3 separate regions of the Homo sapiens genome follow, and regions 2 and 3 are each linked to region 1. The links are contacts of gene promoters, found by promoter capture Hi-C in human tissues and cell types (Jung and others, 2019). All regions are on one chromosome and are shown on one strand. Each heading gives the region's core, a stretch centred on a gene start or on the middle of the fragment in contact. The rest is flanking DNA. Distances are from core to core; before and after follow the strand shown.

Region 1 (3,003 bases), core at 380-2,879:
GACGTAGAGAAGTTGCTGATCAACCAGTGCCCTCCTGCCCTGCCTTGGCTCCCACCCCAAGCCTTCCTCAGTCCCCTACAGCCCCTGCCATTACCCAGCAGCACCAAAGACTCTCTGGCCCACTCTTTGTGTTCAAACTCATTCCTGCCTCCTCCTCCTCCTCCTCCTTTATTTTTCACATTGCCTCATTTTTCTCTCCTATTTTGAAATTTACATCTTGTTCCAAGAGCTGAAACATCTTTACAAGCTGCACCAAACCATTCTGGAAATAAACTCACCAAATAAATAAGTAACCAGGGGGTGACCCCTCACCCGCAAGCATCCACAACCAACTGCATGTGTCGTGTGGGTCCACACCCACCCCTCGGGGTCCCTTCTTACTTATGTTTAAACTATCTGACAGTATCTCAATGTCCTGTAAGCATGTCTGTAAGCTGCTTTTTTCCCTTGCTGGGGCAGAGTGAGGTTATAAATATGGAGATATTAAAATCACAGGGTGATCCAATCCAGCCTAGGTCTGGGACTTCACAGGGAAGCAAACCCTACTCCACCCCAGCAAGCCACTGTTGTCTCTCTGTGCTCTCTCTCTTATTCGTCAGTGTCCATCTTCTTGCTGTGGCTTTTTATGGGTCCCTGTGAAACCTCTCCAACCAAGTAGGGGTATAACGTCTTGGATAATAAAAAGATGGAGTGACCAGTGCCACATGGGAAAAGTCTGAGGGGGTTGGTCCTCACCTCTGGGGACTCAGTCCTAGCCCCTCCCCATTACTAATCTTCATCGTTGGGAACAAAGCCAGAGTCCTCCAGCAGTGGTCCTCAATATGGGGATGCAAGCAGATCCCCCCAGACCAGCAGCCCCCAGATCCCAGACTCACCTTGGCAGCCACAGAGGAATTGGGCTTCTCCAGTAGGTCCCAGAGTTTTTTCCTCTTCTCTGCGCAGCACGTGTTATCGAACTCCTCGCCTTCCCGCTCCCGTAGGGTCTCGGCCTCACGCTTGAGCTCCTCGTTCATCTGCTCTTTCTTCTGGTGGTAGCGGGCCTGGCAGCAGGACTCCAGGTAGATCTCGTCGATGCCCCAGTAGTCGAGCTCTTGGCTGAAGCTGAGCGCGCACATCTCCTCCATCATGTGCAGTCGCCCAGTGCGGTAGAAGTTGAGGATGGAGGTGAAGGCGCCCGGGTGGCGGTCAAAGAAGTACTCGTTGTCGTCGAGGCTGTAGTCATCGCACACCTCGAGCAGCGAGTCGTGCGTGTTGCAGTCGCGGAGCTTGCCCAGCCGCGTGCGGGGCAGGCGGTCCAGGGTACGCCAGAGTACCTCGTGCGCCAGCCCCCCGACGTTGAGGCGGACCCGCCGAGAGCACGCCTTGCTGCGCACGATCTCCATGGGCTCGGGCGGCAGCGAGCTGGTGGAGCGGGAGCCATGCTTCGTCATGCCCGCCGGCATCGCTGATCCGGCCGCCCCCGCCCCCCCTGCCCCCCCAGGCCGCTGTCACTCGACGGCAAGGCCCGCTGCTGCGGGGGAGGGGGGCAGGGAGCGCTGTGGGCTGCTGGGGGTGCAGGGGGCCCCGCGGGCGCGCGTCACGGCCGTCTTCTCACCTCCATCCCGACGGCTGCGAGGCAGAAAGCGAAAGCGGACGCGGGTCAGCAAACGGGGAGCTGGGCATGCTGTCCCCCCGCCCCCCACCTCTCCACCAGGCTCCCAGCCGGCCTTGACCTTCCCCCGCGCTTAAGCGGCTCAGTGGGGTAGGACGGATGGTCGCTGTCCCTCCCGCCGGTGCTGAAGTCCGCCGCACCCCATGGATGGAGGGAGGGGCCGCCCCTCGGGGCGGGGAGAGGGCCCCAAGAGATGCCCCTGGAGCCCGGGAGGCCCCACCCTGGGCTTCTGCGGCCCAGGCGCGACCCAGCCGCCCGGGGCGCTGTCCGCCCCTTAGAGTGCTGAAACTCTCTTCATTATGGGTCTCCCGATCGAGTCCCGAACCTGGCCCCGCCATGGGGAGAGAGGGGGAGCTGCATGAAAACTTTCTTTCTTTATCTTTTTCTTTCTTTCTTCTTCTTCTTTCCTTCTTTTTTTTTTTTTTAACGAGTTCTCTTCTTTTCCTTCCCCTTCTCGAGATAATCAAGATTTTGGGGGTGGGGGAATGGCAGCGGGCTTTTTTCCAAATCTTAAAAGATTTGGGGGAATTCCGGGGGTTCCAGGTGCCCACCTGTCCGAGGTCACAACAGACGGGGTGTGCACAACAGCCCCTCTGTCCTGGAGCGACCCCTCTTCCCAAACACTGGAGCATCTCCTGAGATTGCTCCAGCGACAAGGTGAGCCGCGAGGAGGAAAAGCCCGCTCTCGCCTCTCCCTCTGAGCCCCCAACCCTACCGCAGGAGGGGCGGGCAGAGTCCTCGGGATCCGCCTGCTCCGTCCTCCCCTCGCTCCTTCCCCGCCCCCTTCTCCTCCTTCTCCTCCCCCTCCTCTTCCTTCTCCCCCTCCTCCTCCTCTTCCTCCTCCTCCTCCTCCTCCTCCTACTCCTCCTCCTCGTTCCTCTCCCGCGATGGCTTTTTATAACTCCGGGTTCTGCGCCTTTCCCCGGGCTTGGAAGGGAAGGGGTGGGGGAGGTGGGAGGCGGGGAAATGAGCTAAATTTTCTGGCCTTTTCAAAAGGTGCCATCCTCCTACCGCGCACTAGTGATTTCGGGGGGTTCCCCTGAGCACCCCCTGCATGTAGGGCTCACGCCTTAGCCCCAGAATGGGGATTGCGCGTCCCCTCAGGCCTCAGCCCTTGCCTGCCTCCCACCCCGCTCCCCTCCAGCCTGGAGCTGCGGAGCCCGAGCAGACCAACAGGCCGAGCTGCGGCAGGCAAACCCCCTGTCCGTGTCCCCATGCACCCCCACGGAAGGCCGTACGCCCCAACACTCACCCCCAGGGCGGCCGCCTCCTGGGGCCAGGGACCGCGCATCGTCCCGGCCGCCCGGGCGCCCCCGCCCGTGGGCAGCGGCGGTCCCGGGGCCGGGCTGAGC
Region 2 (3,003 bases), core at 334-2,833, 200 kb before region 1:
TCCCAACTCAGTAAATGCCAACTACTTCCTCAACTCTTCCAGCCACACTGGCTTCTATCATGGGCCTGTACTCAGAGTGTAAGCACTGAAGACAGGGGTGTTTGGTTTGGCTACCAAGTTATTGCCAGCTACAGGATACAACACAGAAGTGCTCAAACACCGAATGCAAATTTGCAAATATGAAGCATACCAACCAAATCTTACTCCTCATGGCTTTCAAATCTTACTCCTCACTCAAGAACTTCCTGCTGGCATATATGATGACTTAGCTTTTTTCCCCGACAGATCGACTATGTTGATCTAACTTTTCTAAGCCAGTTTCTGTCTGATATGCCAGCTTGAGCAGCTCCTTTGTCCCAGCTCCCCTGGGCATCTAGCTGATGGGAGCTCATTTTTCTGTTTTTTCATTTCAGGTTTATTGTTGGCCAAAACCAGGCTTTGATTGAACCAGGATGAATGCGGGTGTTGGAAGTAGAATATATATATACATATAAAATTGGTAAGTGGTGCCAACACGTCTTCCCTGGCTGAGTAGACACAGGCTCTGGAGGGGGTAGTAGCTGCTTTTCAGTGTGGGTTTGTCACCCTACTTCTTGTACGACTCAAATGTGGCCTTTGCAGCTGATGATACAGCTTCTTTCCCCATCAGATCGACCCTGTTGATCTCTACACTATTGGCCAGTTTTGTCTGATGCATTGGCCCCAGTAATAACTCCTATCTTTGTTTTCTGCTTATCTTTATCAGAGACTATTGCTTGTTCATGGGAACTGGGCTTTCTCTATTTTTTCCAGCATTCAGATGGCTTCTTTTGACCTGTTAACTTTCTATAGGTTGGGAGCCACGTGTACCAGTGTGTGTTGATCTTGGCTTGATTCAGTCTGCCTTGTAACAGGTGAGGTTTCTGCTTTCTATCTGCCAAACCCCACCGCAAAATTTGTCCAACTGGGCCTAACCTCAGGACCCATTTCCAAGTTGGGTATAAAACTGGGAGAATAAGTCATTAGGACTGACATTGGCCTGTTGGTATTACTAGGTCTTTGTTGGAAATAAGAGCTTGGAGTTCCAAAGAAAACGAGCACTTGAACAAAAGATTTCTCAGCAAGGCAAATTTACTTCTGCCGTAGGGTGCTGCTGCTGGCATTCCTGGCAAGAGCACACCTAACAAAAGAGAGAAAGGGTTTTTATTCCTAACAAGTAGTCCCTGCTTCTGTGTCCTATCCCCATTGGCTGGAGTCGACAGCGCAATCTAAACTAGTCCTGATTGGCTATTTTAAACAGGAGGCATGTGGGTTACAGCTGTGGGAAGGGCAGGAAACTTGTTTACAGAGCTGGTTGCTAGGAGTGAGGGGGACTTTTCCAAATAGGGAACAGGTTACAGGTTGAGATTGGCCGGAGAAGTTGTTTATAGAACGGGTAACTCGGAGCAGGAAGGTATGAGGAAGTTGACCTTAAGAACAAAGAACAAGGAAGTTAAAACTTTGAAGAGAAATCCATTGTATCTAACGATTTCCCCCTTTTGATTTTTATAATTATTTCTCTTCAGACTTGTTTTAGCGTGTCTTGATTTTGTTCCTCTTGGTCCTCTGAAATTAGAAGCTTAACTGAATGATGCGAGGGAGGATTGAGGAAGATTTTGGTGGGTGAGAGCTGTTAAAATAAGCTTTTGTATTAATCCTCAGATACAGGGTATGATACAGCATCCTACAAGAATGAGCAAACCTATTCTGATGGCAGGAGATTGAGGACGTAAGTCCTTTCCATTTGCGGAACTATTTTTCCATTAAAATCGTGAAGGGGTCATTTATTCCAGAATTTCTAGCTAGCTCATTGGATAAAGCAGTAAGTCCTTGGGCCTTTGTTATGGTTCCATCGGGAGCAGTATTATTAGGGATGAAAGTACAACACTGGGTTCCAATCATGACACAAACTACACCTTTCTCCGCTAGTATCATGTCTAATGCTATTGTATTTTCTCAGGCCGTTTGACTGGTGGGCCCTAATTGTTAAACTGTTCCCTTAATAGCATCCCTAGTATAATTAATGAATCGTTGCTGGGTTACATTTTTTGTGTTTTTTTTGAGATGGAGTCTCACTCTGTCGCCCAGGCTGGAGTGCAATGGTGCAATGGTTCACTGCAACTTCCACCTCCTGGGTTCAACCTACTCTCCTTCAGCCTCCTGAGTAGCTGGGGGCTGTCACCATGTTGGTCAGGCTGGTCTCAAACTCCTGATCTTGTGATCCACCCGCCTCAGCCTCCTAACATGCTGGGATTACAGGCGTGTGCCACCACTCCCGGCCCAATCTACATTTTTATTTAGAGTTGACCACCAGAACAACATGGATTCAAACTTGCAGCTATTTGATTTTGGGCCTTAAATCTATCTGGCACTCCTCGTGGGATTCCAATGGCATCTATATAAACATGAGAGTCACGAGGGACATCCATTGTTTTATGATGTTCTGTTTTTATGTATGTTTTCTGGATGAAATACCAGGGTGAAAGGGAGATAGCCAATTGGATTAGAGCTCAAGTGCCACGCCAAGTAACTTGGCAGAGTATTCAGTAATGGTCCACCACAACACCACCATACGTTTGCTTGGGGATGAATAAGGGACGACTGATTGGTAAGCTCCTGGAAGGGCTTAAGCTCACTGCATCTCGTTAGGTCTCCAAGCAAATTCAAGTTCTCCCCCTGTGAGAGACACGAGGTAAAATTGGCATTGGAAGACGGATGCTTGATGGCCCTCGGGGGCTGACCCGCAGGGTGTCGGACTTCAGGGGACTTCAGGAAACAGCAGCGAGAGAGTTTGGCATAGCTTATTGCCCCAGGTTGTGGGGTCTTGGAAGAGAGCTGCCATACAACTTAATGCCTGATCGGCTGGAGGACGATCCGAGTGGAAAGGGAACAATCTGGGGCTCTGGCTTACCACGTGCGTAAGCATAACAATCGCTTTGTTTAGCGAGCGGACAGAATGTTTAATCCATTCCAGCCATGCATTTG
Region 3 (3,003 bases), core at 363-2,862, 180 kb before region 1:
CAGTCTCACTCTGTTGCCCAGGCTGGAGTGCAGTGGCGGGATCTTGGCTCACTGCAACCTCTGCCTCCTGGGTTCAAGTGATTTTCCTGCCTCAGCCTCCTGAGTAGCTGGGACTACACGTGCCCACCACCACGCCCAGCGAATTTTTGTATTTTTAGTAGAGACGGGGTTTCGCCATGTTAGCCAGGCTGGTCTTCAACTCTCGACCTCAAGTGATCCACCTGCCTCGGCCTCCCAAAGTGTTAGGATTACAGGTGTGAGCCACCATGTCTGGCCTCACACAGAATTTTAAAAACACATTTTAAAAGTGTATTCAAGGGTTGACATGCAATAGAATTAGCAATTTTTACTGCTTTATCAAGGACATTCCTAAGTGAAACTGGCTCTCTTCTTGTTACTGTGGGCTTGTAGGGGTGAAGAATACAGTGATTACTAATAGAATTAGGTGCCACCACTTTGATTCATGCTAAGGAGCCAGCAGCTTTGTCCTCTGTTGTTTTTGTACCATTTAACGCAAATGTCACAGGGGAATGTTAAAAGATAAAGTCTTACTATCATTATGAAAATTCTTGGCCGGGCGCGGTAGCTCACGCGTAATCCTAGCACTCTGGGAGGCCGAGGCGGGTGGATCATGAGGTCAGGAGATTGAGACGATCCTGGCCAACACGGTGAAAACCCATCTCTACTAAAAATACAGAAAATTAGGCGAGCATGGTGGCAGGCGCCTGTAGTCCCAGCTACTCAGGAGGCTGAGGCAGGAGAATGGCGTGAACCTGGGATGCGGAGCTTGCAGTGAGCCGAGATGGCGCCACTGCACTCCAGCCTGTGTGACAGAGCGAGACTCCACCTCAAAAAAAAAAAAAAGAAAATTCTTTTGACCTTGCAGCCCCCTGAAAGTGTCTTAAACACCATACTTTAAGAATCACCAATCTGTTCTATAGACTTCATTCAAATGTTGCCAATTTTCCTACTAATATCCTTGTTATGGTCTAAGATCTAACCCAAGAGCACATTTAAAAAAAATATCAACTTTTACTTTAGATTCAGGCGGTACACATGTAGGATTGTTACAAGGATATATTTCGTGGTGCTGAGGTTTGGGGTATGATTGAGCCTGTCATCCAGGTAGCGAGCAAGGTACCCAGTAAGGGGTTTTTCACCCCCTGCCCCGTCCCTCTCTTCCCCCTCAAGCCTGTCATCCAGGTAGTGAGCAAGGTACCCAGTAGGGGGTTTTTCACCCCCTGCCCCATCCCTCTCTTCCCCTTCTTGTAGTCTCTGGTGTCTAATGTTTCATCTGTATGTGTCCACGTGTACCCAATGTATAGCTCCCATGTGTATGTGAGAACATATGGTATTTGTTTTTCTGTTTCTGTGGTAATTTGCTTATGATAGTGGCCTCCAGCTGCATCCATGTTGCTGCAAAGGGCATGATTTCCTTCTTTTTTTTTTTTTTTTTTGAGACACAGTCTCGCTCTGTCGCCAGGCTGGAGTGCAGTGGGGTGATCTCGGCTTACTGCAACCTCCGCTTCCTGGGCTCAAGCGATTCTCCTGCCTCAGCCTCCCGAGTAGCTGGGATTATAGGCATGCGCCACCACACCTGACTAATTTTTGTATTTTTAGTAGAAACGGGGTTTCTTCATGTTGGTCAGGCTGGTCTCGAACTCCCAACCTCAGGTGATCCACCAACCTCAGCCTCCCAAAGTGCTGGGGTTACAGGTGTGAGCCACTGTGCCTGGGGATTTCATTTTCTTTCAGGGCTGTGTAGTATTCTGTTGTGTATATGTACCACATTTTCTTTATTCCACTGCTGATGGGCACCTAGGTTGATGCCATGTCTTTGCTATTGTGAACAGTGCTGTGATGAAAATACATGTGCATGAAGAGCTAACGTCGAAACATGTTCTATTTAGATGTCCTCTCTCCTTAGGCTCTCTCTCTCTCTTTTTGAGGCAGAGTCTCACTCTGTTGCCCAGGCTGTAGTGTGGTGGTGTGATTTCAGCTCACTGCAACTTCTGCCTCCCAGGTTCAAGCAATTCTTGTGTTTCAGCCTCCCAGACATTAAAGAGATTTACAGGCCAGGCACAGTGGCTCACACCTGTAATCCCAGCACTTTGGGAGGCCAAGGCGGGTGGATTGCTTGAGGCCAGAAGTTCGAGACCAGCCTGGCCAACTTGGTGAAAGCTCTTCTCTACGAAAAACACAGAAATTAGCCAGGTGTGGTGACACACACCTGTAATCCCAGCTACTCAGGAGGCTGAGGAATGAGAATCACTTGAACCTGGGAGGCAGAGGTTGCAGTGAGCTGAGATCGCACCATTGCACTCCAGCCTGGGGCAACAAAGCAAGACCGTGTCTCAAAAAAAAGGGATGGGAAAGAAAATTGAAAATTACTAGAGGGTTACTTTGATTACAGTATTCAGGGAAGGCCTCTCTGAGGATGTGACATGTGAGCCAAGATCTGAAGGATGAATAGGAGCTGGGCACAAGAAAATCTGAAAGGGAAGAGCATTCTGGGAGCGGAGACAGAAAGTGCAAAGGCTCAGAGATGAGAATGAACTCGGCAACACTACACAGAATTCTGTCCAACATTCTTCAGCTGCTGAAAAACTTGTTCATGATAAACTTGGGACTCAGACACATATAACAGACATCAGTTAAACACTTATCAGAGCTGGAGTCATGTTAAAGTAGAATAAAAATGTCAAACTCCAGACATTTCCATAAACACTCAACATGCTTCATTTGCTTAGGAGGAATTTTCCTCATCTCTAAATCATGGGGTTCCAGTTTCCCAAACTCTCTGCCAGGAAGGGAAATTGAGCTGGAAAGTGAACCATCAGAGAAAATTAAGCACCCGGCTCCACCCTGAGCTTTATCATTTATCAGTGGAGTCAGCTAGACATTTGGCAGAAAACGGTGAAAATAACATTTGCCTGTGTGTCTAATGGTTCCATATGCGTTTTGGGTTGGGTGGCATCCAGAAGCAGCTGGGAAAATTCCAGT

Evidence for each region. The method cuts DNA at HindIII sites, captures the fragments that hold promoters and counts their contacts. A contact is called where the count stands out against the background at its distance.
Region 2: a contact is called between a fragment that was not itself captured here and the fragment with the promoter of KCNB1 in region 1, in 1 of the 25 tissues and cell types used here (IMR-90 fibroblasts).
Region 3: a fragment that was not itself captured here is called in contact with the fragment with the promoter of KCNB1 in region 1 in 2 of the 25 tissues and cell types used here (H1 embryonic stem cells and bladder).

What each region holds. Positions count from the first base shown.
Region 1 is chr20:49,481,039-49,484,041 of GRCh38, forward strand. It overlaps KCNB1 (potassium voltage-gated channel subfamily B member 1), which reads right to left and starts at 1,630. Exons shown (of 2, transcript NM_004975.4): 1 at 876-1,630. The coding sequence starts at 1,442. The HindIII fragment of the contact is 16,129 bases long and covers 1-3,003 here.
Region 2 is chr20:49,280,072-49,283,074 of GRCh38, forward strand. ZFAS1 (ZNFX1 antisense RNA 1) reads left to right here. Exons shown (of 4, transcript NR_036658.2): 3 at 414-499. SNORD12B (small nucleolar RNA, C/D box 12B) reads left to right here and starts at 242; the gene lies at 242-344. SNORD12 (small nucleolar RNA, C/D box 12) reads left to right here and starts at 612; the gene lies at 612-701. The HindIII fragment of the contact is 4,058 bases long and covers 1-3,003 here.
Region 3 is chr20:49,300,459-49,303,461 of GRCh38, forward strand. No RefSeq gene overlaps it. Among named protein-coding and RNA genes, the nearest start is that of SNORD12, 21 kb to the left of the region's middle. The HindIII fragment of the contact is 6,452 bases long and covers 1-3,003 here.